Linked DNA regions of Homo sapiens: regions 1, 2 and 4 are each linked to region 3. The links are contacts of gene promoters, found by promoter capture Hi-C in blood cells and fetal thymus (Javierre and others, 2016). All regions are on one chromosome and are shown on one strand. Each heading gives the region's core, a stretch centred on a gene start or on the middle of the fragment in contact. The rest is flanking DNA. Distances are from core to core; before and after follow the strand shown.

Region 1 (7,318 bases), core at 4,273-6,772, 370 kb before region 3:
TGGGCATCAAATGGTCTCTCACTTTAAAATCTGACATTGGCACTACTTTTTCTTTGATTTAAACAGAAAGACCAGCAGATGTTCATGTGAGCATGAGGATAACTTAAAAACAACCATTTTTTTTTAAGGCATTGGCTCTATTTTATTTGCTCTATGAAAAGTAAAAACAAGGAAGAGCACTACAGTAACACATACACCTATGTCCAAATGATGAGAGGTGGATGGCATTTTGGCCTGATGTCAGTTACTATAATTCTTTCCCCAGAAATGTCTTTCTTTTGAGCCCTGACGTCGATTTTCAGTTGAAAATGTTGGAACCGTATAGGGCTGAACATACATAGTAGCTTCAAATCTAAAGAAATTTGCTGAGAAGTGAAATAAACTTTTATTAAAACTATTTGAGGCAAAAGGGTATTGAAGAAAATGGGAAATGTAAACTGTAAGTGATTGCATTGTAGGAAATATTAAGGGATCTATTTAGACAAGACTTTGGCAACTAGAGGTAATAATAATGGCCAACATTTAATGAACACTGATGATGTGCCTGACACTGCTAAACTGTGTTATCTTATTTAATACTCAAGTCTTGGAAGCAGGTTTTTTTTTTTTTTTTTAAAGGCAAGGTCTTGCTCTGTCTCCCAGGCTGGAGTGCAGTGGTGTAATTATGGCTCAGTTCACCCTCAACCTCCTGAGGTCAAGTGATTCTTCCTCCTCAGCCTCCTGAGTAGCTGGGACTACAGGTGCGTGCCATCATGCCTGGATAATTTTTTTTTTTTAATTTATTTTCTGTAGAGACAGGGTCTCACTATGTTTCCAGGCTAGAGGTAGATGTTTTTAACTTCCATTTTACAAAAGAGGAGTCTTGAGATTTAGGTAAAATAATTTGCCCAAGGTTCCAAAGCTAAGCTGTGATTGTCATGTGTGTCACCGCTGAGATGTAAACATAGGCAAGCTGATTCTCATGCCCCCACTTTAAACAATATGTTATAGCTCCAGATGAATGAATATGCTCTTACCTCTAGTTATATTGTGACTCCAGAAGTGACTGCGGGTAACATTTTGCTTCATTTTCTACTGTTTCTTATAGCTTGTGAGCATCTCCATATTTTGGAGGGAGTGACTGAAAGACACAAGAATTAGCAACTTTCTTCATATTTCTTCCCCTTCTGAATGTGCCACACTGTATGCGATCCTTAGCAATTGTTTGACAACCAGTTATTATCAAACTTGATCCTTTATTTCCTTCATAGCACTTACAAATTGCAAAAAAATTATAATTGCATTAATTTGTTTTGCTTTCTTCTTTACTAATAATATCCAGCACATACCTAATGGCCAGGTCTATTTGTCTATCAGTCAGTGAGATTATATAGATATATGTGTGTGTCTGTATACACATGTGTACACAGGAGGACCTGTGTAAGCTGTTAATCAGAGGTTGGCAAATCTTTTCTTTGAAGGGTCAGATAGTAAATATTTCAGGCTTTGTAGGCCAAGAGGCAAAATCATGGATACTATGTAGATACTTATATAACAAGAGAGAGAACAAATTACCATGTACTTTAAATTCAGAAAATTCAAAATATAAACGAATAGAATAGTAATTGAGTTAAAAACTCTTGCAATACAGGTCTACTAATGAGAAGAATAGAATTATTTGGGGAGGACAACATTTTGCCTAATTGGGGTCCAAGTTTAGTGTTTCTTATCAAAACTTTTGCAAATGTTCTTCTGCAAAAACTATTCTTGGCTTGTGGACCATATAAAAAGAGGCATCATACCAGATTTTGCGTACAGGCTGTAGTTTGCTAACCCCTGTTTTTATTGCTCATGTGACTGTTGGGTCAGCTAGGTGATTCTGCTGATCTTAACCAGGCTTACTCGTGTATCTATGACCAGCTGCTGTGTTGGCCGAAGTTTGTGTAGGCTAAGATGCTTCAGCAGAGACAGCTTGTTTCTGCTTCACATGGTTTTATCCCGAAGGAGGCTGGCCTTATCTTGTTCACCTGGCAGCTGAGCAGTGTTATAAACGAGGGAGTGGAAGTATATAAGGCCTTTTGAGACTTAGGCTAGTAACATCATTTTTATTGCATTCTATTGGGAGACCATCCCAGATTTGAGGGATGCAGCTCTTGATGGGAGGAGCAGCAAAGGCACACTGCAAAATGGCATGGATACAGGGAAGGGAGTAACTGCAACCAGTTTAGTAAACCATCTACCGCAATTCAGTTTCATGACCGTGTGGTATTTTGTTGAATAAATATGCCACAGTTGATTTAGTCGTTTTTCTTTTGATGGACATTTTGACTGTTTCCAGTTCTTGGCACTTATAAGCAATGCTGCTCAGAATAATCCAGTATATATCTCCCTGTGCGTACATGTTAAGAGTTTTATTAAGGGGGGGTGTGTTTGTGTGTGTAAGATAGAGTGCATGGACAAAATGTACAGTACATATGTAAGCCTAGAAGTGGAATTGTATGTAGGGTGTGCACATCTTTAGCTTTATCAGATACTGCGAGAGTGACTATATCAATTTATATTCTTACTACTAGTGTAGTTCTTATTGCACCACATCTTTGCCAAGATAGTGTAATTTTGCCAGCCTCATTGCACATGAAATGGCATCTCATAAAGGGTATAATTTGTATTTTCTTTATTGTTAATGATATTAAGTATCTTTTCATATGCTTATTGATCATTGCGTTTCTTTTTTTTTTTTGAGACAGAGTCTCGCTCTGTCGCCCAGGCTGGAGTGCAGTGGCGCGATCTCAGCTCACTGCAAGCTTCGCCTTCTGGGTTCACGCGATTCTCCTGCCTCAGCCTCCCGAGTAGCTGGGACTACAGGCACCCGCCACCACGCCCGGCAAATTTTTTGTATTTTTGATAGAGATGGGGTTTCACTGTGTTAGCCAGGATGGTCTCGATCTCCTGACCTCGTGATCCGCCCGCCTCAGCTTCCCAAAGTGCTGGGGTTACAGGCGTAAGCCACTGCACCCGGCTAATTGTGTTTCTTCTATGAATTGCCAGTTAATATATTTTGCTTGTTAAAAAAATCGTTACATCTTTCATTGATTTTTAGGAATTTTTAAATTCTAATTCTTTTTTGCTCGGTTATGTATGTTCTAATATCTTTCCCAGTCTGTGATTCATCTTTGTATTTTTTAATGGACTCCTAATGAAAACAAGTTTTTAATTTTAATACTATTGTATTTATCAGCCTTTTCCTTTATGGTTTGTACTTTTTATGTGTTATTAAAGAAAGCTGTCTCTTCCAGATCTTCAGATTCTCGTATGTTTTCTTAACGTTTGCTTTTTTACCTTTTGATCCTTAGTCTACCTGGAGTTGATTTTTGTGTATGGTATGAGATGAGGATCTAATTGTTTAAGTATATGGATTTCTAATTCTCTCAACATGATTTGTTGAATTTTTCCCTCTTTCCTCAGCTTTCCTGCATTGCCAAAGCTCTGTCATACAGAGTTTCCACATATACACATGTTCTACATTTCTTTTGACGCTAATTTCCTGTATAGGAAAGTTGTTCGGTTTTCACTTTTGAAGCTGGCACTTTTTGTTTACTACTATGTTATTGCCTGAGTAGTCTTGACTGAACTGTGCCCTTAATTACTTTGGATAAGAGTAGGTAGCAGTTTTTGGGTTGCTCACTATATGCTAGATTAGTATACTTAAAATTTTAGTGCATTTAATGCACTAAAATTTTAATGCATTAGCTCTTCATGACAGTAGTATGAATTAACTATATTTTTTTGTTCCTTTTAGAAATTAGTAAACTGAAGCCCAGAGGAAACTTAATACTTAGCTAGGATTATGAACCCATGCCAGCTAGCTTCAGGGTCTCAACTTTAAACCACTATTTTATAGTATTTCTCATTTGATTTATAAATGTCTTGTCTGATTTGAAACATTTGAATAGGAGAGTGGTTCCCAGTCAACCATAACATATCTAAAATTTGTCTGATTACTGATGTTTAAAGAGGTAATTGTTAAAATGAGTCAAGCAAGCGCTATAAGGACTAGTTACAGTTTATTTTTAGAATTTTATTAGGTTTTTTTAAATGGTCACCTTTGAGATCTGCCCCTCTCCCCTGCCACTCATGAAAGGAAAGATGCAGAAAATGATTCTTTATTTTGGAAAACTATTTTTGTGTTTTTAGATGTCTGGATTTTTCATGTGTGCACTAGCAGAGGATTCTTGCATAAGATAATGGGGCCAGTGAGCATGAACGGTTGTAGGTTGGAGATGTGGTCCTCTGCATGGGTTATTTTTCTTTTTAAGAGCAAGATATAGGGATAGATATAGCTGTTGGCACAGTCTAGGGGAACACATTGTTTTAGATAATCTTGCCTCTTCCTGCCCTCTAGCCAAGCTTCTGATAAGCATTTTGCATTGAGGATGACCAACTTTGATCTCTCCACTCAATTTCCCATGGCACTTGTTATCTGTACCAGCTCTTTGGAAATTCATATTCAATTTAGGATTTGATTTTGTTTTTTGTTTTTTAAGACAGAGTCTTGCTCTGTTGCCCAGGCTGGAGTGCAGTGGCACAATCTTGGCTTGGCTCACTGTAACCTTCGCTTCCCAGGTTCAAACGATTCTCATACCTCAGCCTCTTGAGTAGCTGGGATTACAGGCACGTGCCATCATGCCTGGCTAATTTTTGTATTTTCAGTAGAGATGAGGTTTCACCATGTTGCCCAGGCCAGTCTGGAACTCCTGACTTCAAGTGATCCGCCTGCCTCAGCCTCCCAAAGTGCTGGGATTACAGGCATGAGCCACTGTGCCCAGCCTTGATTATGTTTGATAACACTTTTGTATTTTTCTGATTGCTTTGAAAATATGTTTCGTGTACCTAAGAATAGAACCTTAGGAACCTTCTTGGGACAGGGATGGTGTTTTATACTTATTTTTAATCATCTCTACAGTCTTAGCACAGCAGCTAATTACAGTGCAGGTGTTCAATAAATGTTGCTTTTTTTGAGATGGGGTCTCACTATATTGTCCAGGCTGAGGTGCCATGGCTACTCACAGGTGCAGTCATGGCATATTGCAGCCTCAGGCTCCTAAGCTTAAGTGATCCTCCCACCTCAGCCTCCCAAGTAGCTGGACTAGGGGTGCCCACCACTGTGTCTGGTGCTTCTTTCTTTTAGTGTGGCTTAACTAATGAGACCCCAGAGATAAGGGCAAATTTTATATTTGATTTAAAATTGTTGAGTGTTTTATTCAACACTAATTTATTCAGTGTACTTTGTTCAGCGAATTGCGGGAAACACAAGATGAATCAGAAACCGTATCTGCCCTCAAAGGGACTAAGTTCTTAAACAGTTTAAGTTATAAATATAGTTGCTTGCTTCTGTGTACATACGTACCCTCTTAGTTTCACAGAGGGAGCTAGAAGTTGTTTATAATTTAATTGAGGAGATCAAACATATGAAGAAAAATCATTCAATGTAGAATGTGGTGAGTCACAAAGCCCCTGGGGATGGATTTTGTACTTGAGGTGGGTTGAAGAAAGATGCTTAGAGTGGCAGTAACAAGGGAGCTGGGCCCTCAATAAAGAAGGTAGGATTTTGACAGGTGGGTTAAGGATGGAGGGTGGGGTTGCATTTAAGAAAGAAAAAAACAGTGTGAAGCAAGGTCTGGTAGAGGCAGAAAAAGCTGGCCATGTTTGGAGCAAAAGTAGTTCAATTTGGCTAGAATATAGGAGAGAAAAGTACATAAATTGGGGCCAGTTTATGTAGAGTCTTAAATATCAGGCTAAGGTGTTTGGACTTAATTCAGTAGACAGTGGGGAGCCACTGAAGTGTTTTGAGTAATATGATCTGAGCCATACTTTTGGAAGATTAATCTGGTTGCATTGTCAGTAATGAATGAGAAAATGAAAGTGTTTTCCATTGTTGGAACACTTTTTTGTTTTCTTTATAAACATAACTAAAACAAATGTAAGCTTAGTGTAGCTATCAAATAACACTAAAAACCTTTATTAATGAAAATGTAAGAAAAGATATGTTTTTGTATATCCAGCTATTTTAAAAAACATGTCGGCCGAGTGTGGTGGCTCATGCCTGTAATCCCAGCACTTTGGGAGGCCGAGGCGAGTGGATCACCTGAGGTCAGGAGTTTGAGATCAGCCTGACCAATATGATGAAACCCTGTTTCTACTAAAAATGCAAAAATTAGCCGGGCGTGGTAGCATATGCCTGTAATCCCAGCTACTCAGGGGGTTGAGACAGAATTGCTTGAACCCGGGAGGCAGAGGTTGCAGTGCGCCAAGATCGGGCCATTGCACTCCAGCCTGGGCAACAAGAGCGAAACTCCGACTCAAAAAAAAAAAAGGCCCTATTCACCTGTTGGCTTCTAATTCAGATTTTTGCATTTAGCCTCTTCAGTGAGTTATGTACCACAGATAGATATAAACTTCCAAAAACACAGTTCCGATTGGTATATTTTACTACTCAAAGCCTTCAGTATCTCTCCATTTGGCTGCTGAATAAAGTCCAGATTTCATACCCCAACAGTCAAGGCCCTCCCTCATTCATCTCTCCTACTACTCTACTCTCTGGCTGTTTCAGACAAACTATTCTTAAGACTCCTTGTGATTTCCTACTTCTTTGTCTCATTTACTCTAGTTCTTGTGACCTTCATAGAGTCTTAAGAATAAAAGGGAGGGAAGATATGTTGAAATCTTGAGAACACCTGTGAGTAGGTCATATGTGGCAGAGCTGGGATGAAAGCTCTTCTATTACTTGTTATTTTTTGTAATTGCTATGTGCCAGGTATTGTGGCCAATCCTGGGTTATGATGGTAAGTGAAACAAAAGTGATCTCTGCTCTTTATACCTTATGGTCTATAGAGACAAATATTAACCACTATATATAGTAAACCAATGTTGCAATTACAAACTTGGATGGGTCCTATCAAGGAAAAGTACTTTGAGGTACTTTAAGAGAAGATAATGGGCAAAGGGAGTACAGCTAATTTATAGTGGTATGTCAGGAAAGGTCTCTTTAAGGAAGTGTTTTTTTTTTTCTTTTTTCATGCTGCCCCATGTGATTAAGAGGAAATGAATTTTAAGCTGAGAACTGACATATGAGAGCATGTAGGTAGGGCAAAGAGTGGAGAAGGGCATTCTAAGCAGAGTGAGCAGTATGCACCAAGGCCCCCAAGTGGAAAGGAATTTGGGGTATTAGATGACCTCAAAGGTCAGTGTGGCCAGAACATATTTTGATTACTGAGGAGTAAGATGAACCTGGAGAGTTAAGGAGGAACCAGATCATATAGAGCCTTTTAGACCATATTGG
Region 2 (7,313 bases), core at 1,287-3,786, 300 kb before region 3:
TAGCAATGTGAGCTTTTTTTTCTGGGTGAGCTTTGCAGTAGAGGGGAAGCGGGGGGTCCCACTCTAGATAGTAGCCTGTGTGGGCTGGTAAACTATAGCCTCCCTGCTACAGGTCTTGTGGGACTCCCTTAGCCTGAGGAGGAGGCTCTTTCACTAGGAAGGTGCTGCTCCTGTTGGGTACAGACACACTCCTTTGTTAGCAATGATTGTCTGGCTGCAAGTCATCCTTAGCTAATATATGAAAGACCACACTCACAGTAGAAAGGTAGTTTAGAGATGTTATTACATAAAGTAGAAAAGGGCAGATGGTAAGTTGCAGAAATATCCCATAATAAATGCAAATAATAAATTTTAAATTTCGTAAAGGCGGAAGAGGAGGGAAATAAACATTTATTGATATCTACTGTAATCTAGTCACATTCATCATTGCTTTTCATCTTTTCTCACCAAGGAGAATTTGTATAATCCAACATATTCTACCTTAAAAACTCATTTGAAATTTGTGTTCTCTTCTATAATGTATTCTTATTTTAATACAAAGTGGTGTGAAATATTAAATAAGATTGATGCTTTCAAAAGATGGACATGTTTATCCAGTGACTTGATGTCTGCCCTGGCACAACTGCATCACATTCCTCCAGTCCACGCTCTTGTCTGAGAAGCATGAAAGCATTTATCTCACAATAACCTCATGAAAGGGATATCATCATTTTATAGGTGATAAAATTAAGGCTCGAAGAAGGAAGGAACTTAAACAGGTATTACAGGTATTAAATGGCTGTGTTAAGTTTCTCCCCCAAAGTCTCTCCTCATAAGCATTTTGTGATTCAGTAAAACAGAAAAACTGGTAATGCAGAGTGCTGATCCAAAAGTTTAAGGTTTTTGGTCCTCTACTGACTTGCAAGGGAATCTTTTTAAAGGCCCCTTGTTAAAATCTGTCTTTCATTTCCTGAAGACTAGTTCTAAATAAAAACAGTTATTAATGGGCTGACACCTTTCAGAACTCTCCTCAAATCTAGTGCACTCTTCTGTGTATCTGTACACACCTGACTTTTAAACACAATGTCTTTGCTGCCGTTTACTGGTTTCTTCACTACACGGAAAACAAACCATTCAGTCTGCTGCTTTACCACCTCTCAGCAATTCCCTACGTGTTTAACTCATCCATAATGCATAGGAATAGCCAAGAGCACAGATTCTGATATCAGAAAATTCTAGTTTTAAATCCTGATTCCGAATTACTAGTGTGACATTGGATAAAGTGTTTTAGTTCTCTGTGCCTCAGTTTCCTTACTTTAATAATATATAAGGAAAGAAAGGGGTAATAATGCTTATTACTCCATGGAGATTTTATAAATCTCCTGAATTGTCTGTGATGATTAGGCTGTTGTCATTGTAATGCCTAAAAAATTTTGGGTTGATGACTTACCTTGTAAATATACTTTAAATTGAATAAACATATAGTTTAGTAAGGATTATATATATGTATGTATGTTCATTAAGTGAAATATACTTGAGAATACCAAGTAATTCCACAATTTACATGGCCCACCCTTTGACAATAGAGATTCTAAGTAACAAACTGTCTTCTTTCTACTTGAGATTTATTTTCATGGGGGAAGGATACTGCATAATATGTAGCATTCAACTAATCTATTCTGTTAATTTGGTAATATAAAAAGATTTGTAGATAATGAATTTCTATACTCTTTAAGATACTTTATACACCTTGCACTGCTTCTGGGTTTACTGTTGCCTCGTTTTAAAGTGGGACTTTCTCTTGACGGAAGTGTGTTAAGAATTGGAAAATTCCCTATCAGTAGACTAGCACCATCTTGACAGCCTTGTGTTCTGCTTCTACCTTGCTAATTGTTTCCTTGGGATTATTTGGATTGTGTAGAAAGCTTTTTGCAAATCCTCTTATTACTGAAGTCATTGTTGCCAGCAGGAATAAGATTAAAGGTGCTTAAGTCTGTAGGGTTGTTTCTAATTTGTACGTGTCATTTCAGTGGCATTTTAACAGAACTCTGTCTCCTGTACCTCCCTTCTCCCTTGGTACTATCTCCAGTTAGGTCCAAGAAGCCAGGCCATTGGAAGAAGTCTCATTTTATCCTCCTAATTATTATGCTGGCACTCAGGAGATAATTTTTCCCTTCATGCACTGCCAATTAATATGCAAATAGCCTGATAAATATTTATGCAACGATTTAAATTATGCAGGGAGTGCTTTCAGTATATTCTGTAAATGAATTGTTCATGGACTTCAAAGTGCTGGCTGCTGTGCTAACGAGGAGAGATTTGCATAAGGCCCTAATCACGCGCATACTGATTAAGCTTCATTATGGAAACTGCCAGCTGCAATCTTTGTTTCTATTTTATTACAAAAAGAGGAACTTTTTCATGCTTCAGTTGCCTTGACAATGTCAGTCCTAGCTGGTAGGAGAGACTAAAACTCCTCTGAGCAACTGAAGTTTCCTTATTCAGTTGAAGATTGCTATGGTGTAACAGAAGTTGTATTTTGCTTTTCCCCTTAATCCACTTTCCACCCTACGCAACCCCCCTCTTTTCGCTTAAGAACATACTGTAGATTTGTTAGAAATAGTAGTACCTTCTTTCCCCACCCCAAACTGCTACCTGTTTCTTCCTTGTTTGGACTCTCTGCTCCTCTAGAAGATTTCACAGCAATGCTGGACTGCAGTGACTATGTTCTAGGTGGGTACCAGCACAGTTCTTTTCTTAGAAGCTTTAATATGGAAATAGAGTGTGTCGGGTTGACTATGCATAAATGCTTAATCGCATATGCAGCCTGTGGCGGGGGAGGGGGAGAGTTGGACTGAGCAGGGAAGGAGGAAAGCATTTGCAAAGCACAAGCTTACTTGAATTTGCAGTAGGTCCCTCCCTGTGACTAGCTCTTCTGATTCAGAGGGTATCGTTAGTAAATACAGTTAATTTAGAGTTCAGCTCGAATGAATATTTTTGCTTTTTGGAAATTCCTATTGAGAACATTTCATGTAGTTATAAAAACATCTTAAATCTGAAACAAGGCATAGAACTGTACATATATAATATATACATATTAATAAAAATGTTTTTCATACCTAATGAGAACGTCTTATACAAAAACCAAAATGCTCAGTGAAAAATAAGGTTGAGTCACAATGCAGAATAGTTTTTATAAATGTTAATAAAGAGGGTAATTGTACTGGTTGCTGCAACAGATCTGTTGATCGATTTCCAGATTTTAGAAACTATTAACTTTTCAAATTTTTGCTAGGATTAGTCCTCTTTTTAATTTTTTTAAAATCAACTATATACTCTAGATAACTACAACTTTAAATGTTGGAAAACCTTTTTAGAGTTTTCTCTGTAGAACAGCAAGCCTTTTGGAGTGGAAGATGTCCAGCTTAAATTTGTTAAAACCATCTTTGGTGATGAAGATTTCAAATAAATCAAGGCACTTTGATTTTTAGATATATGGTGGCTAATGGTGGTCATATTTTGTGTGGAGTTATGTCTGTTTATATGCAGAATTATTGAGACTTTTTTAGTTACTCTAGTCACCTGGAAAGTTAAATGATATGAACTCCGGGACTTGGATATCTTACATTTAAAACTTTTGCAAATGACTTTTTTCCTATATTGTCATTTTCTGCACTTGAAAATTAAAGCTGCTCCTGTCACCTTCATAGTTGCCAAAGATAAAGTAAAATGATACTTCTGAAAACGTTTGAATTCTTATGCATAAGGCATGGCCTAAACCCAGGGTAGCAGTATCTGCCCAGCACAGTAAAAGCCACTATGTAAAGAGTGAATGACAGAAACAACAAATTTATGTCAGGAATTCAATCTTGTATTTACTCTTTGACATTTACTTAGTTAACAATTCAAAAAAAGGAAAGAAAAATACCTTTTTGGAATATTTTTAACACATCATTTTAGAAGTAGAAATTACATCTCTTACTTTCAGTTAATAGTAAGTATTATTTAAACAGTCTTCCCATTGTGCAATTTTATTTTTGTGTGTATGTGAAGTAATGTTTTATTTTTGTGTGTATGTGAGATAATTTTGTTAAATGCTTTTGAAGCTCTTGACAGTTCAGTAGAAGAATCTGAGATGATTCACTTAAAATACCTGTGACATAGTCTTTATAGATGGGAAAATTAGAATATGAATTGTACAAAGTCAGGCTCATGACTTGTTAAGAATTATGCTTATTTCTGCGGTGCCCACATATGTGAGAAAACTGTTACTCTTTTTATGAATGTTAACTGATTGATCATTTTTTCCACTTTCCTTTAAAATTCATTTAAAGGAAGCATGGAGCAGTATGTATGCTAATGGTATATTCTATTACATTTGTTGTGATCTCTGTTGACTTTCATGAGATTTTGGTTGTCATTCAGAAAGCTGATTTTTCACTAAGTTGTACACCTGTTCCTTTCAAACCTTAGTATGCTTTCAGATGATATTTAAATTTCTCTGGACAGTGAGAAGAAGGAAGTTGTAGAACTGCCCTCATTTATGACCACAAACATATGAATTTTAACCCTTTGAACATTAGAAGACCAAACCAAAGTTATGACAGAACTGCCTAAGCCCATAAGACAAGCATCAGTTACAGAAACTTTTACTGTATTGGAAAAGCTATTACACATCTTCTTGTTGGAAATGAAACTTATAAAAGAAAGACTCCTGATTTTTTTTCTCATCTGTTATGCATGGGGATAATTCGACTGTAAAGAACATGGTTGAGAATTCTGTCTAGTGATTGTTTTGATTTTCTAGTTAGATGTTTAAGCAGATGAAAAAATGTGCTCTTTGGTCAAAAACAGTATAGTTTAAATATTTGTTCTCTGTTAATAACTAAAGTTAAATGGTTCTTAACTTATTTAACCACTAAATAAGTTAATGTGGGTAAAGGCAGAACTTATTTGACAGTAAACTTGTTTGATCATAAATATTCTAAGTTTGAGTTTACAGTAGTAGAATAAGAGATATATTTATGTATATTCCGTTTCTTACCCTTTCAAAGACTTAGAAGAAAAGCAGAGTTCTTGTCTCTTCTCTTAATGTATTTTCTGGGATACCTAATATTGCTTGATGAAAACATTTTACTGTGGAAATAAACCTTCATTAAGTAGATAACCCAGAAATGATAAACTCAAATTAGCAGTTTCATTTAGGATATTGAGGTAGTATTACTTTAAGTGGGTGTGGTTGTAATGCAGTTTTGAAATTATTAGCTATATCTGTTATGCCTTACGGTACAACTTCTTGTGCTGGTTTATAGTTGAGGTATGAATTTAATATGTTCTCACTTTGACTTGTTTAGTTTGGTTGGGGAGGGGAGTAAATTTAGAGATAATTTACCTTAGACGTGTTTTCTTTTAGTTCATAGGTTGAGTTACTGTCCCATCTTTTATCAAGATTACCAGTGGGTTGTTTTGGTTATAATGAATGAATATCATTGCATATAGAAAAAGATACTTTATTTGGGAATAACATTTTATTATGTGAGGTGCTTCCCCCCTTTCCAGTTTTACTTCATGTTAAAAGCATTTATTCCTTTTACATATCAGGCTTTCTAATTTTCTTCAGGTTACAGTTCTGCTGTCTTTCTTTAAAGAATCTTAAAATTATTTAAAAAGACAGTTTATTTGTGAATCCCTTCAGGGTCTGGGGAATTTTGAATTTCTTCCAGATAACCTTTTATTATAATTTCTAGTATTTTAGCCAGACATGTATACACTGGGTCTTCTTAAACTATATGACTATAACATTAGTTAACCCTTTTCTCTGCCACAGTTTTGCCTCCTCAATCCCATCTCCATCCCCAGTTTTTTAAAAACCTTATTCTCCTCTGATTTATTGCAGACTCAAGAATGAACAATCCGTCAGAAACCAGTAAACCATCTATGGAGAGTGGAGATGGCAACACAGGTAAGAGTTTTCTGATCTAGCTTTTTAATTAACTCTAGTAGAGCACAAAGAAGAAAGTTTCCATGTAACTAGGACTTGTATTTGGCAAATACAGACCAATTTGAGTATTGAGTTGTCAAATATGATTCAGTCCTTTAGGAACTGGGAGGGATTATGTTTGTTTAAGATTACTTAACTTTCTTCTGCAGGCAGCTTCGTTGTTTTGCTTCTGTCTATCAGACAAACTATGCAGAAGTTAGGAAAACTGTCCTTTGGGTCAGATAGTTTTGGATATGAAATATGGGTTTACCACTTACTAGCTTGTGACTTTAGGCAATTTCCCCAATCTTTTTGAGACTTAATTTATTCAATTACAAAATGAGGATAATATATTTCAGGTTATTGTGAGTATTAAAGGAGATGATATATGTGGCATGTTAAGCAAAATGCCAGCTACACAGTAACTATTCAGTAAAATGTTTTTTCTTACAGATGTTAATCAAAATAGTAAATTTTATCTGCCCTACCTTTGCTATAAATTATATTAAAAGTTATGATAGTAAGTAGTTATAGACACATACCCATTTCTAATACATTCTTTTATTTGGTAATTTAAAAAAATTATACTTCATTAAACCTTTTATCAAGAGAAAATTATCATATAAATGAGAATACTGAGGCCCCATGAGAGAAAGGTAAATCTGTAAAGGATGGTTTGTCTCCACGGCTCATACTCTTGAGTCAGTATATTGCTTAGAGGATGTAAGACTATGTATCTTTATCATCTGCCAGAGAGGATACAGGGACTTCCCTGGTTTCTGGTAAAGGTATAAATCAAAATATGAAACCAAATAAGAAGACAGTTATGGGCAAGGATGAACAGAAAGTACTTGCTTCTAAAAACTAGGTTTTTCGCTTGCAGAGAGGGATCCCTTTTGACTTATCATTTTAAAAATGCTTAACCATGGGCAATGGTAAGAGTGAGAGGCACTCTTAATTTGTGGTAAATGGCTGAGTTGGACTAATGTAGCAGTTTTCCTGCCTGTATGTCTTTTGCTGTAAACTCTCCTATACCTGGAGATGCTTATGTTAATCTCTAAACTGTACATACCTCTTTATGTGAAACTGAGCTGTGGGGCTTCCATGTTCACCCCTGTTGTATTTAACACACTTCATAGTACTCTTACTGAGGCTAGCCAAGTAGACTTCTGTAGTATCTCTTAAGAAGGGAAAGGGCAGCATTGTATTCTGTCTGAATTGTCAGCCAGTCTCCTTTTTGTTACTTCTCTGTCCCCTGTTTGGACTCCATCTTTCTTTCTTGTTCAGCACTGGTTCCTATGCCAGTGCCGGTGCTTCAGCCACCTAGCTTAGGTGTGGGAAATGTTTGCAGAGA
Region 3 (7,297 bases), core at 598-3,097:
TTAGAAGACCTGATAGTAGACTATGCAGTCATCACTACGTCCTGCACCTTTAAAAAGAAAGGAAAGAAGCACGAGCAAAAGTGTGCCTTGCAGGTTACCAGTAAATACCCTTCCTTACTGCCGACTCTGCTCTCGAGTCTTCACCTGAGCAGCCATGTGGCTGGACTGGGAGGGGCCTCACTATTAATTCCTGGGAGTGAGGGCTCTTTTCACTGGGTCCCCGAGTGCCTGTCTCTAAATAAAAGAAATATCAGGCTCTTATTCATCTGAAGCTTGTACATGGGGCTAAGCATGATAAAAACAGCCACTTTTTGCAGAGTGCCTACTACATTGTATAGGTGAGGAAAATGAGAATCAGAGCAGTTAAGTGACTTGTCTAAAAAATACAACTAGAAAGTAGCAGAGCTGGAATTCAGCCCTCAATCTGTCTGTTCCTAAAACCAGGCGTCTTCCTCTATGCTTAGCTAAGCTAAAGAACTAGAAGCCACTCTGGCATTAGGGCTGCCAGTGTTTTAGAAAGTTGGGCCTTAGAAAGTTCTAGGACAGGAAGGAGGCCATATTTCTAAGACTGGTACCCAAAGCAGCAATCTAAGTGCCTGAAAGTGCAAAGATGGTGCCGGGATAACCAGAATCAGGGTAGTCTTTGTAGCAGGAGCAGACTCTCAGCCTTTTTTCTCTACTGTTTCTCCACATGTCTCTTCACAGTGCTCACCATCACCTGTCCCATTGCCCACCTCTGATGGGGCTCCCCTCCCCTGGTTGAGCTGGGGTTGGGCGGGTGAGAATGCTGTGGGATAACCCAGAGGCGTCATATACCCAGCCAATACCCTGGCACTCACAGGTCTCTCAAGGCATTTTCCTGTTTCTCTCTGCCGAAGGGTCTGAAGGGGGCCGGGATCCGGGTAGCAGGGAGTGACCCTGGTGCAGATTCCAGTCCCCGAATCCCTCCCATGCGGTCTCTGCTGCCCAGCCGGGATGGCCCTAAAGGAAGGTTGCTATGCTGGGCCCTATGGGAATCAGATGTTGAGCATCTTGCCCTTTGCTATATTTAACAGGAATGGAGACGAGGCCCTTTAGCAAGCAGCTTGTGGGAGCCAAAATTCCCACAAAACCGAATGCATCAGTCAAAGCAAGGTTTGAAGAAAAGATTTACCACTTCAGGGAGCTTGGAAAACTTTGCGTGGATTCCTGATTTTCCTCCTCCTCCTCCTCCTTCTACTCGTATACAGAAGATAGATGGATAGATGGATAGATAGTGGTTTCCTGGAAGGTGGAGAGGAAAAGAGGTGAGAAGGGAAAGGTGGTCCCGTCGGCGCCACGCTGAGCTCTGAAGCCTCGGTCAGAAGGGCTCCTCTTTTGGTAGAACACAAACGCCTTCCACCAGGGAGGGTCCTCGAACTCCACCCAAGAACTGCAGGGAAACCAGGTATGACAGTAATGCAATTTTAAAAAGAGGGAGAGGAAGAAGGAAAGCAGGAAGGATGGACACAAAAGAAGGAAATCGAAAAGAGAGGAAACAAAAAGAATTAAAGGACCACTCTAATTCTTGAAGGGACAGGAAAAAGAAAGAAGGCGCATTAAGGGAGGGAGACGTTGAGAAGGACTGAGACCGTGGCAAAGCCCAGGGTCCTGAGAAACTTCGCGAGACAGAGGGGCCCGGTGGCTGCCCATCCCCATGTTTGGGCACATGGAGTCGTGGCTCCCGCTCTTGAGTCCTGCCCTGGGAGGGACAGTATCTGTTTAGATTTGCGTCTAAATTTAAACCCTGATCGTCGGCCTCCCTCCCCGCTCCCCACCCTCCCCTCCCCTCCCCTTCCTCCCTCCCTCCCTCCTCCTCCTTCCTCGTTCTCTCGCGCAGGGCCCCCGCGGCCGGGGCAGTCCCGCAGCCGAGCGCAGCCGGGCGCGCGCCACCGCCCACTCGCCCTGTGCCCGCCGCAGCCCGAAACTGGCCACGGCCGGGAGCGGAGGGGACAGCGGGGATCGTGAGCTCCGGCCCGGGCGAGCGGGTGCGTCTGCCGCAGAGTCGGCACCTGAAGGACATGGAGGTAAAGGACCCCGGAGGGAGACGCGGGGCTGAGCGGTGAGCGGTGTATCGGGCGCCCCTTCCCCGGGCGGCTGCCCCTGCCCTGAGCATGGAGCACGCGGCTCATCGCTGCTGCCAACTAGAAGGGCAAATGCCTGCTGTTCCGACGCCTCCTTGACCAACTCCGAAGGATCGTCCCTGGTCCCACCTAGGACACCCGGGTTGGGAGGCTGGGGTTGGTAAGGAAAGATCTCAGAGGGAGAGAAAAGGGCTTTCCTAGAGGCCCGGGTATTTTGGCTAGGAACTTAAATGCTAAAAAAAAAAAAAAAAAAAAAAAAAAAAAAAAGTTAGGTGCAGCCAAGGTTTGTAAATGGGTAAACGTGTCAGCAAAAACTGCAAGAAGGCAGAAGCCCTTCAATCTGAAGAGATGGGTATTGAAAGAGAAACAGAACTGGCAACACGAGGCCAGCACGTCTTCGTGGGTCTGTGGGCTTCCCTTTTCGCTTTCGGAGTGGCATTTTAGAGAGTCCAGTTGTCTTCTTGCTTCTGAAGTCCTTCCTGTGTCTGTCGCATCTTCTTCCATAACTTTCTGAAAGCTCCCCTTACTGGTCAGTCGAATGACATTATTTCTGATAAAACTTAAGACTCCCTTGGACACCCTTGCCTCTGAAGCTGTGTGTATGGAGGTATGCTGGCCACATCTGCAGGCTTTGCCAGAGGGAGGCCCCGCACTTCTCTGCCTGCTGAGAGGAGGTCCGGGGACTTTCCTTGTTCTGTTCCAACCTCAGCAGAGGAGTGGTTGGGTGTATTCCCCACATCCCTCTCTTCTGCACATCTTGAGGCTTCCCTGTGTTTCCTCCTTGAAAATGAGACCTGATATGTAGCCCTAAGTCAATCTTAGTAGGACCTGGGGCTTTTGAGAAGATGCAAATGTTATATAGTTTTAAAGGTGATTCCCACTCATATTCAAAAGGAAACATGTGTTGCTCACTAGACTGTGGTCAGTGCAATCAGGATTCACAGTTAACTCCGCTATCTCTTCCCCGCTCCAGGCTCTGTGCCTGGGCCCTGGTGGTCTTTTTATTTTTTTCTTTTGAGACAGGGTCTCATTCTGTTACCCAGGCTGGAGTGCAGTGGCACAATCTCAGCTCACTGCAACCTCTGCCTCCCAGGCTCAAAGGATCCTCCCACCTCAGCCTCCCAAGTGGCTGGGACTACCAGTGTGTACCACCATGCCTGGCTAGTTTTAAAATTTTTTGTAGAGACAAGTTCTCACTATATTACCCATGCTGGTCTTGAACTCCTGGGCTCAAGTGATCCTCTAAGCCTTGGCCTCCCAAAGTGCTGGATTTGCAGGCATGAGCCACACCACTCCTGGCCCTGGTTGTGTTTTCTAAGCTAGACTCTGTGCTTGCCGGCAAAGCTTCATGACTTCTCTAAAGGGGCAATAAGTTTGTCCTTTAGAGAAGTCAGGGAGCTATATTCAGGCATCCAGCCCAGCCAGTTGTCTTCAAGGAACAGGGAATCACCTTCAAGGAGACTTTATAGACTGCAAGAACCACTGGAGTCTAATATGGACCCTCCACAGAAACATTTGCAAGGCCAGGAAGCTCTGGCAGATTAGGGCTGGCGGTGAGGCACGCACACAGCGAAGCTCAGCAGGTGGTGTGCACACATCCACCCAAAGATCACACAAACACAAAACAACAGGGTTCTCTCTGAGCTGGCCACTGCTTCAGGGCAGAGGAGGGAAATGGCCCAGGCAACACCCAGCTTCTTGGGTTGGGTGAAGTCTCCTTAAGAAATTGTTTTAGAAGTGGCTTCCCTCTTCTGGAAGTGTACAAACTGCCTTAGGCCCCAGGCTGCAGATTCACTATGATGTATGGCCTGTCTAACCTCTTGAAGAAAAGGATTGGAGATAAGAGAAAAGCAACTCTTAGACTTCAAGCAGGTTGCTGCTGGAGGGCCAAATGCAAGTGTCAACTTTGTTCTAGGAAAACAAGGAGGGTCTCCTTCCACAGAGGCAGTTTCTCCCCCCTCAGATGAGGAAGGAATAGTGTATGGCAGAGGCCCTGAAACTATCAGCTGAGCAACTTCCTGTGTGGCTTGGGGGGTGGAGGGGATTGCAGTAAAAGAGAAGGCCCTCCCTTATTGAGATGTGTAGTAACTTATGCAGGATTCCACCAAGATACCAAAATCACTCCCGTGCTAGGGTTTGGGAGGGACGCAGGGAGGGAATAGCTCAGCCAGCCAGAAGCCTGACAAATCACCCTGCGTCTCACATCCAGTAGGTCACTAAGCCTAGTCCATCAATTTGCTGGTTGGACAGTGGCTGCTTTTGAAGTTTCTTTGTCCAAATGCCTGGAAAACAAAAAACAACAAAAATGAAACAAACAAACAAAAAAACAACATGCAACTGCTAGTGAAGAAAGTAAAGAGGAAATCTAGGGGCCAGGGAAGTGACCATTCTTAGCCAGGAAGTAAACTTTTCATGGTGAAGCATGATATGCAGGAGTTGGATTTGGGGGTTTCTGAAAATCTCAGAGTAAAACCCTCTTTTGAGAGGTGAAACTCAGTTTTGGGACATGAAAGGGCTACTGTATCTGGAAAGAAATTAAGTTATATTACTTCTCAGTACTAGGAATCCAAACCAGACCAAAGAGGGTTACTCAATATTCATTCTCTAAAGCTCACGTATTATTGGAAGTCTTTGAGAGATCTTTTTTTAAAGTCACTGTTACCATTATCAACAACATCAATCTTCATCCCTCATAAAGCCCTGTGGAATAAACAAAGTATAGATGCCATCTGATCCCTGCCTTTTAAAAGCTCACAACCCAATAAAGGGACTATATCCTGTCACATATATAATCTTCAAATGCATAAATGCCAGTTGAATACTGCTGCAGATCATGAGTTCTGCAGGAGTTCAGACTAGATTAGGTTCAGAAGAAGCCTTGGAAGAAAGATGTGGGTAAGGTGGAGAAGGTATAAGGGATGGGCACAGGGAGAACATGCCAGCTTTGTCCAGCTGGCTGGGAAGGAAGGTAGGAAAGCAGTAACAGAAAAAAATGAAAGTAATAAGATAAATCCAAGGTCACTGAGTATAGTAGATGCCCAGCTAAGTGGGTGAGTGGGAGCTGAAATCCAAGTCACTTGGAGGAAAAGGTTACTTTTTGTTCATACAAAATCTCCTTGCCTAGTTGAGCCTCAAACGGGTGGCTTTTTCTAATTCATGCAGAGGCCATCTGCAACTCTTGAAGGCCAGAGTTGTATGGCCCTGGATTCTGCTCCATGGACAGTAGGAAACTCTGAGAGGTGTTGAGGCAGCTGGCAGCAGTGATGTAGCCGGGATGATACAGCAAAAATGCCACTTCATGGAGTGAGCAAGGGAACCAGGTGAGAAAGCATCTTTTCCAGTACAGGTATATTCTGACTTCAGGATACAATAAGAATGGAGAAGATGGAAAAGAGTAAAGACCATGCGCTGGAAGGGAAGTCAGAAATCACCAAGCTGCCCAGAAGAGTGAAGTTCTCTATGGTGCCAGGGAAAATGGCAGTACCAACTTTTACAGCTCCATACAAAGCCTTTTGCAGGCAGATTTTCTCATTGGTCTTTGAGTCTCCAGAATGAGCACGGTGCCTGGCATATAGTCATATAATTTCTCAATAAAAGTTTGCTTGATAAATGATTAGCATAAATAGGGAACTCCTTCCCCTCTCGGTCTGTAGCTCAAACGTCTCCACCTCTGGAAGGCTTCTGTGAAGCCCCCAGACTCTACAGCACTCTCAGAGCACTTTGTTCAAGCCACTATTAGAACACTAGGCAGAACTGGAACTGTCAGCCTCCCTAACTGTCACCCCGGAAGGCTCCTTGAGGGCAGGGGCCATGTCTTATATATTTAGAGCCTAATGGGCACCAAGAAAGGCTTGTTGCATGAGCAAATATTGAAGAGGGAAGGAAGATCAGGGTTTTTTTTTTTAACAAGCAGTGTTTAGATATGTTGGTTTTGATTGTTCTAAGCAGAATGTCCACCACTCCCTAAGAAATACAAACCTGTTATGATACAAATGTGATTCTCCTCTAGAAGAGATAATAGGTAATGCTATTGTGGATAGGAACCCAGAGGACAGAGGTGTGTAAAGAAGGAGCTGGAGGCGTATGATGTCACATTTAAGTTAATACTGTTAGTCACTTAAATATAAATTGTGTGCACTGCCAATAGCCTGAGGGCACTTGAAAAAAAGTATAATTTTCGCTGACTAAATCCTTTGTTTGTTCAACTAAATTGTAGGCACATCATGGCACTGAAAAAAAGTCATAAATTTCTAACTTAGGTGGAGACAATAAATGAATCCTTTTCTCTGGGGTAACTGCAAATCATTCCCAGATATTATTTGTCATTCATGGACCTACTCAGTATTTATTGGGCCCTTATTACATACCAGATCTTGTATTTTAAATGTTACTTAAAAATTATGGAGCTCTCATGTCTTTACATTCTCACAGACTGTCAGTATTACTATGATGAGAGTGTGTGTGTGTGTGTGTGTGTGTGTGTGTACATATTGGTGTATATAATGTGTTTGTTTTGTGACCTACTTTTTCATCCATATCTTTTTACTTCAGTAAACATTTTCTACCACATTTTTTAAAATTATGGGACTAGGAGATAGAAGAGAAACATGTAACGAATCCAAATCTTAAAAAGATTATTTTGATATTTCACCGTGAAACACTAGGAGAAACACCCACAGCCTCGCTGTTTTTTGACCCACCCACCCTCTCACTGAGCCATATGTTGGCTGCTGGTTGGAGCTGATGGGCCGTAATTAGGAATTGCACAGCCTCTGAAGCTAGAGTTTGGCTCGGTGGACTTGTGGCATGCCCAAATACCCCACATTCCTCTCTGGCTCCCGCGTGTTCTGTGGGACCCTCACCCTCACACTGGCCCCCACTCAGCAGACATCTTCCATTTGTTGGACTGCGACGACAGGGGGAATTTGGGGAGTGAGACTCTAAGGGCCCAGCCCAGGCCCTATCACAGGAGGGGGTGAATGTGCATTCCTGGAAAGGAGTCGGGTTTCAGAGCCTGATCCGCAGCGTGGCTCCTCACAGCACTGCGAGCCAGAGCTTGGCGCGCGCGGTTCCGTGGGAAATCTGAACACTGGCGGCTCAGCAGCCCGGTAATCTTATCAGGGCCGCAAGAGAAAGCATTTTGGTTCCAGAGAAATCTGAAGGCAGCTCCGCTTTTCTCCAGTAATAATATTTAA
Region 4 (6,499 bases), core at 819-3,318, 390 kb before region 3:
CTTTTTTTCCCCCCCAAATGGACAGCCAACTGTCCTAACACTACCTATCCCTTCTACCAAAAATGTCAGTTTCAGTCATTCAGTCATTTAACCTAGTGTTCTTTTTCTGACATACGTAGTGTTCTTTTTGTGACATACCATTTGTCAACTGACAGAAAAAGAACACTAGATTAAATAGTCTACTTTAAAAGTATTTTTAAATAAGGAGATATAGTTTAAATTTCGAATATCTGTGAATCTTCACTCCCCATATCTTTTTTGCCATGCTATCAAGACATAGTTAACTCCTAGTTATAATAAATACAGTGCTTATCTGGTATAGATGCCACTGCTTTACAAGAGTAAAAGAACATATGTAAAAGTGCTGTCCATGGGCAGCAGTTCAAGGGGTAATTTTAATTCGTACCACAGGTATACATACACATTGTAAACTGCTTTAGTGGCTTAATGGTTGTATTTTGACATTGTAGTCAAATTTGATACTCCCACCCCAACCCTCACTTTTATGCTCATTCTAGCAAGTGCTGGGAATGCTAAAAGCAGAATACATAGCCCCTTGAAGAACAATATACTTAAAAAGTGATCACCTTAATACAGACATGAAAGTTTCCTCTCAGCATTAAGCTAGAGTTTAGGTGCTTGGAATGATTGAAATTGATTTTTTAGGTAGAAGGGCCAGATGGTGTTGGGACAGTTGGCCGGCCATCCATTTGAAAAACACAAAAAATGTATGTCGTCAGGGTTATACTTTACACCGTACACAAAAAAGAATGGTGGAGAGATTAAAGATTAGACTGTTCAAAGAAAAACTCAGAAAAATACTAAGACAAAAATACAAATAATTTTTATTTAGTTTTGGGGATGGAAAGGCTTTTTTTTTTTTCTTTAAGCTATGAATAGGACTTTATGGAAAGGCTTTTTTGACATGACACACAACTCAAATGCCATAAAAGGAAAAGATGGATAGATTTAACTATATAAAATATTTATGGTTCTGCCTTCTGAAAGACTCTACAAATAAAATTAACATAATATATGGTAGAAAAGTATTAGCCTGTATGGAACATAGAGGGATAATTTTTCTTACTATATCAAGTTCTCTTAGACATTAGTAGTACATAACAAATACCCCAGTAGTCGAAGTGTATGAATAGTCAATTCATGTAGAATAAGGGCTGTGAAGATATGAACCCTGACTAGAAGCCTCTGCTGTAAAGACAGAACCTTCTTTAAGTCCGATATAAAACAAAAGGATGAAGAATTACAAAATGTATGCTTTGGTAGGGCAGTGAAGAAATTAAAATATTAGAAAAAAGAGTAAGAGTTGAATACTGGCCATTGTTTTAGAGGTAATTGAGGAAGCGTATTTTATATACTCGTGGGTAATTTTACTACTTTAAAGGTGGAAAAAATATTTAAAATAATGAAATAAATAGAGAAGGGATTCCTGCTGTTCCTGATTTAACACACAGGACAACAGATAAATGATTATGAGCTTATACTTAGCCTAAGTTTGTGTGGAAACTGTTAGTTTCTTCCAAGATAAGTGTTTCCTAGATAACTGAAAATCTACTATTGTTTTAATTCACTTTTTCTTGTGCTTCTGCATAAACATATTTAATATATGCCTTTGGTGTCCCAATGAAGTTCACCTTTTACAGTTGGTTTGAAGCCCTTCCCTAGAGGTTTGCCAACGTTATTTCTATGTGGAAATCCATTCAGAACCCAGCTTCTGAAACCTTTGCTTTGGGGACACCTTGTTCTGTAATGAAATTATCTGAAAAGGCCGGGCGCGGTGGCTCATGCCTGTAATCCCAGCACATTGGGAGGCCTAGGTGGGCGGATTACCTGAGGTTGGGAGTTCGAGACTAGCCTGACCAACATGGAGAGACCCCGTCTCTGCTAAAAATACAAAATTAGCCTGATGTGGTGGTGCGTGCCTGTAATCCCAGCTACTCGGGAGGCTGAGGCGGGAGAATCACTTGAACCCGGGAGGCGGAGGTTGCCGTGAGCCAAGATCGCACCATTGCACTCCAGCCTGGGCAACAAGAGTGAAACGCCATCTAAAAATAAATAAATAAATAAATAAATAGTCTGAAAAAGTTCTCACCCAGGAGATAACTCTCCTCTCCTATTTTACACATCTCCCTTTGATTTGCCAGTGTAAAGCAATAACCTTAGCAGAATGATGTCTTCTGTCATAATCTATTTGTCTTCATAAGGGCATGACTCAAAGAGGTCTGTAGAATCTGTTTTTTAGTGCCGGGTGAAATAACTAAATATTTCGTTTTAAAAGGAAGGAATTAATCAGGAACCTTTTATGATTCTAGCTACTACTGGGCTGTAAACAGTGATGCCAGCAAAATGTTACTTCAGCTGATGAAGTGATGCTGTTTCGAGAATTTGAAAGCAATTTTTCAGTGGATAAAGAAGTTGACAGCACGATTTGTTGGATGTGATGAAGGATTAATGAGCATACACCTTCACTTGTATTAGCTTAAGATGGAATGGTTCTGGGCAATATAAAATAACAGGTTTTCCAGTTTATTTTTATTACTGTACTTGCTTGTTTATAATATTAGGCATATTAATTAACACCTATGAAGCCCATTTGGTATGCTAAGCACTGTTCTAATGTTTTACATGAATTGTCTCGTTTAATCTTCATGTCAACACTTATGTAGGCATCATTGTTATGTGTTTTATAGGTGTAGAAAACTGAGGTACAACGAAGTTAGGTAATTTCAAAAAGTTAACATAACTGGAAAGTGGTAGTGTTAAAAATAATTTGAGGGTTTTGATTCCAGTTTTCATGCTAACTTTAGTTGACTAAAGGAAGGATACATTGTCTAATTTAATCACAAACGCAGCTATGTGAGGAAGGATTTTTAGAGTTCTCAGAGCCTAAGTTTTCTTAAGTGCCTAAAAAAATGCCTTGGTTAAGGAAGATATTTATGGTAGAAATGCTTTGTTATTGCCAATTGCTTTTATCAGGATTTTGGACCTAAGTTACCTGTTAGGTGCTAAAATATTTTTAAAGATGATGAAGCATCCAAGTGCTGCTTGTTCATTTACACTTTTATTAAGTAATTGTGAACATTAATTATGGTTTAACTAAGAAGCACCAATATTAATACTTTTGGTTTTCAGAGTTTCAAAGCCGCAATTTTGAGTTGTTCGGCCTGTTTAGTGACAGTCAAAAAATAAATGCCATGCACGAGAATTTCAGCACTATGAGCAGTGATAGAAGAGAACCAAGAAGAAGTGTATACCTTTGGAAAATGTGTTTCCTGTTATAGACACATAGAAGGACCTGTTGCCCTTGATGATTCTGCAAAGCTATAAAAGCTGGTACTTGAAAAACATGGTGTAAGAAACCCAAATCACAGAAAGACTCTAAGACCAGCTTTCTTACCATGGTGACGCATTGAAGCACTAAGTGTTTGAGCACATCTCACAGGATGATCTAGCTATAGAATTGACAAGATTTTGCCCTAAGATAGTTGAGAGAAGCAAATGTATGCTTTCTTCCATGGCATAATTTTACCTATTTACCTTTTATGTGAAATTAGCCCGAATCAGGAGTCACAGCTTAACCTGTTTATATGGGTGAAACTTTCCATATTGTGAGATGTTGTTTTTACTAGCAAAGTAACAAGAAATGAAGAACCTTCCAGAGTTTGTAACTTACTGCCTTGCTATGAAAATGATACTTCAGATACAGTGATGTGTTTATAATGTCTCCTTTTGCGTAGGATAAATGCTGTATCTGTATATGTATGGGCAAAATTCAGAAAACTATTAATCATACACAATGTATACAGACATACGTATATTCTCATTCTCCCTCTCTCCCTCCCCCTCCTTCCACCTGCCTCTCTCCCCCGCTTTCTTTCTTATTTCCTTTGTTTCCCAAAATGAATTCTACCTTTATTAACTCAGTTGAATTTTCAGCAAGTGTCTACTAATTGAGACAGAATCTACTGTTCTTCAGTGCCGCTACTTAACTATATGCTCATCTCTTTCTACTCATATCTCTGTTTTATATTTTTACTTGGGACGTTATTGCATGGTAATTAAGAATACTGGCCTAGGAATCTGACCGGTTAATGTTTCAATAACTGACCAGTAGCTTGATTCCTTCAACAAATATTTCAGTGCTTATTGTATTAGGCATTGTTTTAGGCACTTAAGAAAATCTAGGCTCTGAGAAGTTAACTGTAAAAGCCCTTCCTCATGTAGCTGTGTTTAGGATTAAGTGAGATAATGTATATAATTGCTGAGCACGTTGGAATCTGTCGATTTATGTAAACTATTTCTTATTATCTTCAAACCTTTTAATGACTTGGAACTCTCAAAGTGAAAAAGTAAGTATGAACAGGTATAAATTTATTTTTTTAATTTTTATTTTTTTTTGAGACGGAGTCTCGCTCTTGTCGCCCAGTCTGGAGTGCAGTGGCGTGATCTTGGCTCACTGCAACCTCTGCCTCCCAGGTTCAAGAGATTCTTCTGCCTCAGCCTCCCGAGTAGCTGGGATTACAGGCTTGCGCCACCATGCCTGGCTAATTTTTGTATTTTTATTAGAGATGGGGTTTTGCCATGTTGGCTAGGCTGGTCTCGAACTCCCAACCCCAGATGATCCACCCGCCTCGGCCTCCCAAAGTGCTGGGATTACAGGCTTGAGCCATCACACCCGGCCTAAACTCTTTTCTTGAATTAAGTTTCAGGATTGACAGCCTTCATTATAACATGTCCCATGTAATTAGCATCATGACCACTATCACAAACATACTGATAAATATAGTACAGGACCCAGATTTCAGCACCTGTTACATAGAGCCATTTGTTTTTTTCCCCTCTTATCCGTAGCTGCCCTCCACAAATATGGATAATGGACCGAGAGTAGACTGTGCTGTGTCTGCCCATACTCTGAATCATATTGCCAATCTCCTACTCATCCTGCCTCTTGAGAATCCTGAGCACAGGACACCTGAGATAGCAAAAGGTCCTTCCTGTAGTAAAAGGCTTACAGAGTCAAATGGCTGGAGCGGTGTGAGAATATGGACTCAGGAACTTTGGAATTGGGAGTACATTTTAGATTAGAAGATAGCATGTAAAGGAAGAAGGAGAGAATTTTTGTGGGTCAGGCATCTGGGCATGGCTCAGGTGGGTCCTCACAAGGTTGCAATTAAGATATTGGTCAGAGCTACAGCCTCATCTGAAGGTTCAACTGGGGAAGCATATGCTGCCAAGCTCACTCACACAGTTGTTGACTGGACTCAGTTCCTTACTGGTGGTCGAACCGAGGACCCTGGTTTCTTCCTGGCAGTTGGCCAGAGGCTGTTCTCCATTCCTTGCCATGTGGACTTCTCTGGCTTGCTTCAGAGCAAGCACATGAGAAGAGCCAGATAGTGTTCCAGCTGGAAAGGAGTATTAGCAAGACAGAGTCACAGCTTTTGTAACCTAATTGCAGAAGTGACATCTCATCCCTTTTTCAGTATTCTGTTTATTAGAAGCAAGTCACTTGGTCCACCCCACACTCAAGGGGAAGGGGCTACACAAGGGTACAAATAGCAGGAGTTCATGAATCATTGGATGGCCATCTTACAAATCCACCTATCACCTACCTACTGAAAGCCTTCAGTAAGCTTTAAGAGCATACAGGAGCCCTGACACCCAAAAATTAGAGAACTGCTGATCTAAATGTATGTTACATTGGTGGAACATGTATGGGAGATATAATACCTTCCTTAAAAAGTTCTTCTCTAGGATAAGATCTTGGGCCTTGGAAGCCTGTATATGGGGAGTGCAGGTAAAATCAGGAAAGCCTCCCCTTTTTGTCAACTTCAGTTTCTGGAGAGAGGGATCTTAATACTACATAGCTGTCTTCTAACATCTTTTAGGAAGTAACACAACTATGACAGGAACAGTAGTGAATGTTAGAAAAAATAAAAGGTCTGAGAGAGGAGAATAGGAGCATATTCTTGCAAAGCAGAAATAAAACTTTTTAAAAAAATCCGTGCCCTTCAGTGAAACTTTTTTTTAAAGGATCTTTGTATGTTACCTTATGGGAAACTCTAGAAATCAACTCTAAAAATGAAATTTTGAGTAACAATTTTTAGAATGGTTGTTAAAATGGCTAAAAGCTATTATGTGACTCAAATTTCTTTTTTTTTTTTTGTTTGAGACAGGGTCTCATTCTGTCACCCAGCTGGAATGCAAGTGGCATGATCGTGGCTCAGTGCAGCCTTTACCTCCTTGGGCTCAAGTGATCCTCCCAACTCAACCTCCCGAGTAGCTGGGACCACAGGTGCACCACCACCATGCCTGGCTAATTTTTTTTTTTTTTTTTTTGAGATGGAGTTTTGCTCTTGTTCCCCAGGCTGGAGTGCAATGGTGTGATCTCAGCTCACTGCAACCTCCACCTACCCGGTTCAAGTGATTCTCCTGCCTCAGGCTCCCGAGTAGCTGGGATTATAGGCATGCGCCACCACACCCA

What was found. The method cuts DNA at HindIII sites, captures the fragments that hold promoters and counts their contacts. A CHiCAGO score of 5 or more calls a contact.
Region 1: a contact is called between a fragment that was not itself captured here and the fragment with the promoter of RCSD1 in region 3, in 1 of 17 cell types (neutrophils). The highest score is 5.4, in neutrophils.
Region 2: a contact is called between a fragment that was not itself captured here and the fragment with the promoter of RCSD1 in region 3, in 1 of 17 cell types (total B cells). The highest score is 5.0, in total B cells.
Region 4: a contact is called between a fragment that was not itself captured here and the fragment with the promoter of RCSD1 in region 3, in 1 of 17 cell types (neutrophils). The highest score is 5.6, in neutrophils.

Annotation. Positions count from the first base shown.
Region 1 is chr1:167,257,178-167,264,495 of GRCh38, forward strand. All of the region lies in intron 1 of POU2F1 (POU class 2 homeobox 1), which reads left to right. LOC124900412 (a long non-coding RNA gene) reads left to right here. Exons shown (of 2, transcript XR_007066718.1): 2 at 1,088-7,318. Among named protein-coding and RNA genes, the nearest start is that of POU2F1, 40 kb to the left of the region's middle. RefSeq lists an enhancer at 7,112-7,201. The HindIII fragment of the contact is 879 bases long and covers 5,084-5,962 here.
Region 2 is chr1:167,326,595-167,333,907 of GRCh38, forward strand. It overlaps POU2F1 (POU class 2 homeobox 1), which reads left to right. Exons shown (of 16, transcript NM_002697.4): 2 at 5,876-5,941. Among named protein-coding and RNA genes, the nearest start is that of POU2F1, 110 kb to the left of the region's middle. RefSeq lists an enhancer at 1,123-3,215. The HindIII fragment of the contact is 409 bases long and covers 2,333-2,741 here.
Region 3 is chr1:167,628,385-167,635,681 of GRCh38, forward strand. It overlaps RCSD1 (RCSD domain containing 1), which reads left to right and starts at 1,848. Exons shown (of 7, transcript NM_052862.4): 1 at 1,848-2,045. The coding sequence starts at 2,040. RefSeq lists enhancers at 1-46, 2,565-2,634, 6,522-7,045, 7,046-7,297 and silencers at 1,705-1,784, 1,805-2,024. The HindIII fragment of the contact is 3,174 bases long and covers 271-3,444 here.
Region 4 is chr1:167,239,077-167,245,575 of GRCh38, forward strand. All of the region lies in intron 1 of POU2F1 (POU class 2 homeobox 1), which reads left to right. It overlaps LOC124900412 (a long non-coding RNA gene), which reads left to right and starts at 2,541. Exons shown (of 2, transcript XR_007066718.1): 1 at 2,541-6,499. The HindIII fragment of the contact is 7,155 bases long and covers 1-5,646 here.